3 separate regions of the Homo sapiens genome follow, and all the other regions are linked to region 3. Evidence: promoter capture Hi-C in human tissues and cell types (Jung and others, 2019). All regions are on one chromosome and are shown on one strand. Each heading gives the region's core, a stretch centred on a gene start or on the middle of the fragment in contact. The rest is flanking DNA. Distances are from core to core; before and after follow the strand shown.

Evidence for each region. The method cuts DNA at HindIII sites, captures the fragments that hold promoters and counts their contacts. A contact is called where the count stands out against the background at its distance.
Region 1: a fragment that was not itself captured here is called in contact with the fragment with the promoter of FRMD5 in region 3 in 1 of the 25 tissues and cell types used here (adrenal gland).
Region 2: a contact is called between a fragment that was not itself captured here and the fragment with the promoter of FRMD5 in region 3, in 1 of the 25 tissues and cell types used here (adrenal gland).

Annotation. Positions count from the first base shown.
Region 1 is chr15:44,242,100-44,244,799 of GRCh38, forward strand. No RefSeq gene overlaps it. Among named protein-coding and RNA genes, the nearest start is that of GOLM2, 45 kb to the right of the region's middle. The HindIII fragment of the contact is 7,356 bases long and covers 1-2,700 here.
Region 2 is chr15:44,151,369-44,154,068 of GRCh38, forward strand. The region is part of intron 1 of FRMD5 (FERM domain containing 5); the gene reads right to left. Among named protein-coding and RNA genes, the nearest start is that of FRMD5, 43 kb to the right of the region's middle. The HindIII fragment of the contact is 3,584 bases long and covers 1-2,700 here.
Region 3 is chr15:44,193,930-44,196,629 of GRCh38, forward strand. It overlaps FRMD5 (FERM domain containing 5), which reads right to left and starts at 1,342. Exons shown (of 14, transcript NM_032892.5): 1 at 1,024-1,342. The coding sequence starts at 1,125. RefSeq lists silencers at 673-732, 843-892 and enhancers at 1,226-1,727, 1,728-2,227, 1,743-1,842. The HindIII fragment of the contact is 20,453 bases long and covers 1-2,700 here.

The DNA of each region.
Region 1 (2,700 bases), core at 4-2,503, 48 kb after region 3:
TGGTCTTGAACTCCTGATCTCAGATGATCCACCTGCCTCGGCCTCCCAAAGTGCGGGATTACAGGCGTGAGCCACCGTGCTGGGCCAGAAGCTCATCTCTTTTTTATTTTTATTTATTTATTTATTTTTTGAGACAGAGTCTGGCTTTGTTGCCCAGGCTGGAATGCAGTGGCGCGATCTCGGCTCACTGCAAGCTCCGCCTCCTGGGTCCACACCATTCTCCTGCCTCAGCCTCCCAAGTAGCTGGGACTACAGGCACCCACCACCACACCCGGCTTTTTTTTTTTTTTTGTATTTTTAGTAGAGGCGGGGTTTCACTGTGTTAGCCAGGATGGTCTCGATCTCCTGACCTCGTGATCCGCCAGCCTTGGCCTCCCAAAGTGCTGGGATTAGAGGCGTGAGCCACCACGCCCGGCCTAGCTCATCTTTTATACTTAGGATCTCAGGGTCTCCCAAGAGTTGAATGGTTTGCTCAGTCTGTGCTGAGTTTCTAGGTAAGAATGATCTGTGACTCTGGTTTTTTTTGTTGCTGTTGTTTGTTTGTTTTGAAAAAATTTATTTATTTATGGCTGGGTGCGGTGGCTCATGCCTGTAATCCCAGCACTTTGGGAGGCCAAGGTGGGTGGATCACGAGGTCAGGAGTTCAAGACCAGCCTGGCCAAGATGGTGAAACCCCGTCTCTACTAAAAATACAAAAATTAGCCGGGCTTGGTGGCCGGTGCCTGTAATCCCGGCTAATCGTGAGGTTGAAGCAGGGAATTGCTTGAACCTGGGAGGCGGAGGTTGCAGTGAGGTGAGATCGAGCCACTGCATTCCAGCCTGGGCGACAGAATGAGACTCTGTCTCAAAAAAAAAAGAAAAAGAAAAAATTTATTTACATAAGTTCATGGGGTATAAGTGTAATTTCAGTACATGCATAGACTTTGTAATGGTCAGGATTTTCGGGGTATTCACCACCCAAATAACATATATTGTACCCATTAAGTAATTTCTTTTTATTTTTCCCTAGGGTATAGATCCTGAACATTAAGTAATTTCTCATCCTTTACCCAACTGCCATGATCTGTGACTCTATTAACCCTCCATCGGCCTCCTACACATACATACCCCATAACTGGCTCCTATTCTCAGAATTCAATACTCTGCCCTGGGCAAAACTGTCCCTATGCCAAACACATATTTGCTTGCAAAAACATCACCCAAATGCTATCACAAATCCTCTGTTAGGCTGGGCTCTTTCCCAAATTGGCTCATTCTCATCTGCAGATCAGAATCTGAACCACCAGAGGCTACATGTCTTTCTTATAGAAGCTTGCAACAAAGGGCAGAGGGGTTGGGAATCATGACATAACAAAATAATTTGGGGCCAGGCACAGTGGCTCACACCTGTAATCCCAGCACTTTAGGAGGCTGAGGCAAGCAGACCACTTGAGTTCAGGAGTTTGAGACTAGCCTGGGTAACATAGTGAAACCTTGTCTCTACAAAAAATACAAAAATTAGCTGGGCATGGTGGCATACACCTGTGGTCCCAGCTACTCCGGAGGCTGAGGTGGGAGGATTGCTTGAGCCCACAGGTGGAGGTTGCAGTGAGCCGAGATTGTGTCATTGCCCTCCAGCCTGGACAACAGAGAGAGACCCTGTCTCAAAAACAAACAAACAAACACCCCCCCCGCAACAAAAAAATACCCAGTTTGGTTAGTTTGTGTTTATTTGATAGGTTTTCTTTAACCATGTGAGATGAGCTAAAGTAATTATTTCCATGGTATCTATTCCTTGAGTCTTGGGCATTCAAATATATGTGATGTACCATATAACTCCAGCTCTGTCCATCTGTAAACACAATGGCCAAGTCAGGTTTTCCAGGTAACTAGGCTGTACTCTTCTGCTGATTTGTAAATTTTAAGGCAGTTGGGCGTCTGGCTCCACTTAGTGCTGAAATGTCATAGTGCAGCCCGGTTACTGTTCTACAACCATAGAAATTAAGGAAAGGGTGAACCATAGGTCACTTTTTAAAAAATTATTTTTAGTGATAGGATCTCACTCTATTGCCCAGGCTGGAGTGCAGTGGCAGCCCTGAACTCCTGGGCTTAAGTGATCCTCCCGTCTTAGCTTCCCAAGTAGATAGGACTACAGGCGCGTGTCACCACACCCAGCTAAGTTTTGTATTTTTTGTAGAGATGGAATCTCACTATGTTACCCAGGCTGATCTTGAACTCTTGGCCTCAAGAGATCCTCTCGCCTCAGTCTCCCAAAGTGCTGGAATTATAGGCATGAACCACTACACCCAGCCTACAGGTCACTTTTCTGACTAAGACAGATATGTGACAATTACAGACAATCTGAGAAGTTGAAGATCAAATCCTATAGTGTTTGTGGTGAAAATAATAAAAACTAGGGGCAAAGCCTATGAGAACAGAACTGAGTTGAGAGAGAGGAGAATCTCTGGCCCTCTCTGATAAATCAGTTTGAGTTCCTGGTCTGTATTCTTTGCTTTCTAGATAGTATTACAGATCCTTTTAAAATAAACTGTCCTAATGCCACTGCAAGACTGTATGGAGGAGGGAAGAGGGCCCAGAGAGAGGCTAGAATCAGAAGTTGGAGGTATCATTGTGTTAGCCCAAATTTTGGGTTTACTATACACAAAAAATTTGATGATAAATTATTGGGCTAGTTTAAATTTGCTAAACCGTAGAAGGGGC
Region 2 (2,700 bases), core at 122-2,621, 43 kb before region 3:
CCTAAGTGACAGAGCGAGACTCCATCTCAAAAAAAAAAAAAAAGAAAGAAAGAAAGAAAAAAGAATTAACACACAAAAATCAGTTGGGTACTATATACTAACAAATAATAATCCGAAAAGAAAAGTACAAAAACAATTCAATATATAATTGCATCAAAAAGAATAAAATACATAGGAATTAACCAAGGAGGTAAAAGATTCATTGGATGAAACTACAAAACAGTGCTAAAAGAAATTAAAGAGTAGTGCTAAAAGACCTAGATGTAAAACCTAAAACTATAAAACTCTTAGAACAAACAGAAGCTTCACAACACTGGATTTGGCAATGATTTTCTGGATATGAGAACAAAGGCACAAGCAAGGAAAGAAAAAAAAGTTTGGACTTCATGAAAATTATAAAAATTTTGTGCATCAAAATCAACAGAGTAAAAAGGCAACCCACAGAATGGGAGAAAATCTTTATAAATCACATATCTGATAAGCGATTAATGTCCGGAATATATAGTAAACTCCTAAAACAAACAAACAAAAATCACAATTAGTAAATGGGCAAAGGCCAGGCCAGGCGCGGTGGATCACAACTGTAATCTCAGCACTTTAGGAGGCCGCGGTGGGCAGGTCACTTGAGGTCAGGAGTTCGAGACCAGCCTGGCCAACATGGTAAAATCCCCTCTCTACTAAAAATACAAAAATTAGCCAGGTGTCCTGGCGCATGCCTGTAGTCCCAGCTACTCAGGAGGCTGAGGCATGAGAATTGCTTGAACCTGGGAGGCACAGGTGCAGTGAGCTGAGATTGCGCCACTGTACTCCAGCCTGGGTGATAGAGGGAGACTGTCCCAAAAAACAAAACAAAACTATATTTTCCCCTTTTCCAGTCAAAAACCTGCAGCAGTAAACACTATTGTACATCTTTTGTGTCTCCCTTCTTTTGCTCAATTTTTAAAGATAAATCTAGGTTGTTATATGTATCAATACTTAATTCTTTAACCTTATTGTGTAGTATTACTCCAATGTGCAAATACATAAATAAGCCACAATTTGTTTATTCATAATCCTACTGAACATTTGGTTTGTTCCAGTTTGGGACAATTATAAAGTTGCTACACACATTCTCATACAAGCCTTGCAGAATAAGCGTATGTTTAATTTTATTAGAAACCACCAAACAGCATTCTTGAGTTACCTCAGTAAATGGGAAAAAGCTCCACCAGATTTGATTGTGAGCTAAGTTGCTCTAATCTCTGGTAACACTTGGCCTTAATTTTTTTTTAACTTTAACCACTCTGGTGGATGTCTACTGATATTGCACATCAATTTTTACTTGCACTTCCCTGATGAACAATAATGGAACATACATTTACTGACCATCTGGAGATAGTCTTTTGTGAAGTGCTTGATGACATATTTTGTCTGTTAAAATTGGCTGTTTATCTTTTTCTTATTGCTTTGCAGGAGTTGTTTATATATTGTGGATCTGACTTCTTTATTAAACTGTACTGCAAATATTTTCTAAAAAAAAAAGTAAACGGGCAAAGATCTTGAATAGACATTTCTTCAAAGAAGATATACAAATGGCCAATAAGCACATGAAAAGATGATCAACATCACTAATCACTGAGGAAATGCAAATCAAAATTACAATGAGATACCTCCTCACATCATTAAGATGCCTATCATCAAGAAAAGAGAAGACAAATGCTGGACAGGATGTGGAGAAACTGGAACTCTTATGCACTATTGGTGGGACTATAAAATGGTACAGCCACTATAGAAAATAGTATGGCACTTCCTCAAAAAATTCAAAATATAATTACCATATGGTCCAGCAATTCTATCTCTGGGTGGGTATATACTCAAAATAACTGAACACAAGGTCTCAAAGAGATACTTGTATATCCATGTTCACAGCAGCATTATTCACAATAGCTAAAATGTAGAGGCAACCTAAAAGTCCATCAACAGATGAATGAATAAGCAAAATGTGGTATATACATATAATGAAGGATTATTCAGACTTTAAAAGGAAGGAAACTCTGACATAGGCTTTAACATAAATAAACCTTGAAAAAACTATGCTAAGTGAAATAAGCCAGTCACAAAAAGACAAATACTGTATGATTCCATTTATATGAGGTATAGACGAATACTAGAATGGTGGTTACCAGGGGTTGAGGGGATAGGGAAATGGGAAGTTATTGTTTAAAGGGTATAGAGTTTCAGTTTTACAGATGAAAAAGACTGTGGAGGTGGATGGTGGTAATGGTTGCACATTATGAATGTATTTCATCTGACTGGACTGTACATTTTAAAATGGTTAAGGCCGGGCATGGTGGCTCACGCCCATAATCCCAGCACTTTGGGAGGCCCAGGCGGGTGAATCACCTGCTGTCAGGAGTTCAAGACCAGCCTGGCCAACATGGTGAAACCCTGTCTCTACAAAAATTCAGAAATTAGCCGGGCATAATGGCAGGTGCCTGCTATCCCAGCTACTCAGGAGGCTGAGGCAGGAGAATTGCTTGAACCCAGGAGGTAGAGGTTGCAGTAAGCCAAGATGGCGCCACTGCACTCCAGCCTAGGTGACGACAGGGCAAGTCTTAAAAAAAAAATGGCTAAGATGGTAAATTTTACATTATATTAATTTTAAGTACAATTAAAACTTGGGAAAAAATGTTGACGGGTGCAATGGCTCACACCCGTAGT
Region 3 (2,700 bases), core at 92-2,591:
CAAAGGCAAAGGATCAGGTGAGACCCCTCTGGGTCCAGCTCAATTAGCTTCTCCACAAAGAGCAGCTTCCGGCGATGAGCGCAGGATCCTCCTGGCTGATGAACTAAACACGGGAGCATTGTCAATGTTTTCAATCTCTGACTTTTTCATAAGGGAGGAGAGAGGGCTGTGACTGCATTCCCGGGAAAGACTACTACTCCTGACGTGCACACAGCAGTAGCGAAGGAACATGAGCAAGAGGTTGTAAAAATCCCTTCAAAAATACCAGGTTCTGAAAGAAATGCTGTTGAGCATTACCGTATTGTTGGCGTTTTTCCTAAGTCGCCGATTCTTCCTGGCCACTTCCAAGCCCCAAATCGCTGGGACTTGTTGCTAAATCTTTACCTCACGTCCCCTAGAACCGCCCAACACAATAAAATTTGGGGATCAAAAGGCGGGAGGGGGCCTAAATCTCTAAAACCCAGAGGACTGGGCTTCCTTCAATAGGCCACTCCGCATGGGCTGCGCGTTCAGTTCTACCTTCTGAAAGCTCTGACTCACAAATGGTGGGGGGAGGAATTATGACATAAACCATTATCCTTCCAACCCAAGAAAGATAAGAAAAGCCAGCCATACGTCCTTGCCCGGGCAGAGAGCCAAAGCCTGCGCCCCCGACGGGGCGGCCGGGCTAGGAGCCTACCGCCCTACCCGCCTCCCTCCGGGCGCCCCGGAAAGGTGCACCTTACTCGGGCGGGCTCGAGGAACCAGGACGGGGCGCCCTCACCCAGGGAGAGCAGGGTAGGACTTAGGGGTGTGGGACGCGGAGACTCGCCCCGCGGCGGCGGTGACACACCGGGTGCCAGGGCTCCGGCAGGGGCTCCGGTGAAGACGCCCTGCACTAGGGCGGTCCGCCGCAACCAGGAACGGACAAAGCACGGCGCTGGGGCTGGGGCGACCCCTGGGCGGCGGCCGCCGCCGGCCAAGTTGACCAGACTTGGGGGACAAGGGGGTCCCGCGGGCGGGGCGGGGCGGCGCGGCGCTGACCTGGATGGTGCAGGTGTACTCGCTGTCGTCCAGCAGCCGCACGGTGCAGCTGTACTCGCGCTCCAGGCTCCTGCTGCTGCCGCTCATCAACCTGCTCAGCATCTTCCCGCCCGCCCGCCCGGGAGCGACGCGGCGGCGCTGCGGACCCTGGACCAGGCGTCCCTCAGCCCGGCAGCTCCGCACCGACCCCAGGCACCTGCACCATCACCCCGGCCCCGTCGCTGCCGTTGCCTCCTGCTGGCCTCGTTCCTCCTCCTTATCCTCCTCCTTCCCTCAGCCGCCACCGCCTCCCCCCAGCCCAGATCAAGCGCCGGGCTCTGTCTCCTCGGCGCCCCAGTGCCCGTGCCCAGCTCGCGGGGCGGGGCCTCAACTGGAGGGGGCCAATGGGGGTCAGCGCGGCGGAACCGAGTGGCAGACCGAAAAGCCAATCGAGATAGAGTACTGGGATGATGGGCGGGATAAAGAAGCAATCACAGAAAAGCAGTCGGACCTAGTCAAGCCGGAGCAGCCCTCTAGCGTCCCAAACGAGGGGTTCCTCTCCGCCCCGTGGTTCCTATGGATGCTGTTTCCCCTCCCCCGGGCCAGGTGTGAGCACCCAACTGGATTGATGTCTGCCGCCTGAAATACACTTGATCTGCGTTTCCGAAGCCAAGCCTCGCACCCTGCAACACCGCGGTTCCCGCCCTCTTGGGAGCCGGAGCGAGGAGGCGGCAGGGTGCTGGATCACAGTCCCTGCACCTGCAGAATGCGGATACCTCTCGCTCCAGATAGGGCGACTGCCCCCGACCTGTGCTGTACCCTAAGTTGGCCCGTCTGGCCTCTGTGCTCCAGCCCTCTTATTTTGGGAAACAGGAGCTACTTAAATAAAAGCTAAAGGGACCTCAGAGGTTCTGAAGTACCCAGGTTTAATCCCCTAAAAAACCCTCCACTCTAACACCCTTTGCCTCCTTTTTATTTCAGAAGACAAAAGGAGACTGCTCCTTCAGCTGGTAGGGAGCAGAGGAAGCAATGAATCTTCTCCTTGCACTTTTAGAACTGGAAATTATGTCTTCAGACTTTCTCAATAGAACAACATAGTATGTCAGGAGGTATACATCACAAAGAATTGTCTCCTTCTCTTTGTCACCCCAAATTTACAGACTTCAAGGTTTTTTACCAGAACTTCAATAAGAGATATTCTCCCTCAAAGATTTTTGATGTGAGGAAATGTTATAAAATAATTATGTCGGCCGGGCGCAGTGGCTCAAGCCTGTAATCCCAGCACTTTGGGAGGCCGAGGCGGGCGGATCACCTGATGTCAGGAGTTCGAAACCAGCCTGACCAACATGGTGAATCCCCGTCTCTACTAAAAATACAAAAAAATTAGCCGTGCATGGTAGCACGCACCTGTAATCCCAGCTACTCGGGAGGCTGAGGCAGGAGAATCGCTTGAACCCAGGAGGCAGAGGTTGCAGTGAACCAAGATCACGGCCATTGCACTCCAGCCTGGGGGACAAGAGCAAGCCACCGTCTCAAAAAAAAAAAATAATCGTGTCAACATAGAACATTAATGCTGTAATAAATATATTAATTTAAAATAATGAAATAGGCATAATTTCCTATTACTTTCATTTGCACTGTTCTTGTTTATAGGTATAATGTGTAACAAAAATGAAACTCTACATTAGCCTAGAAAAC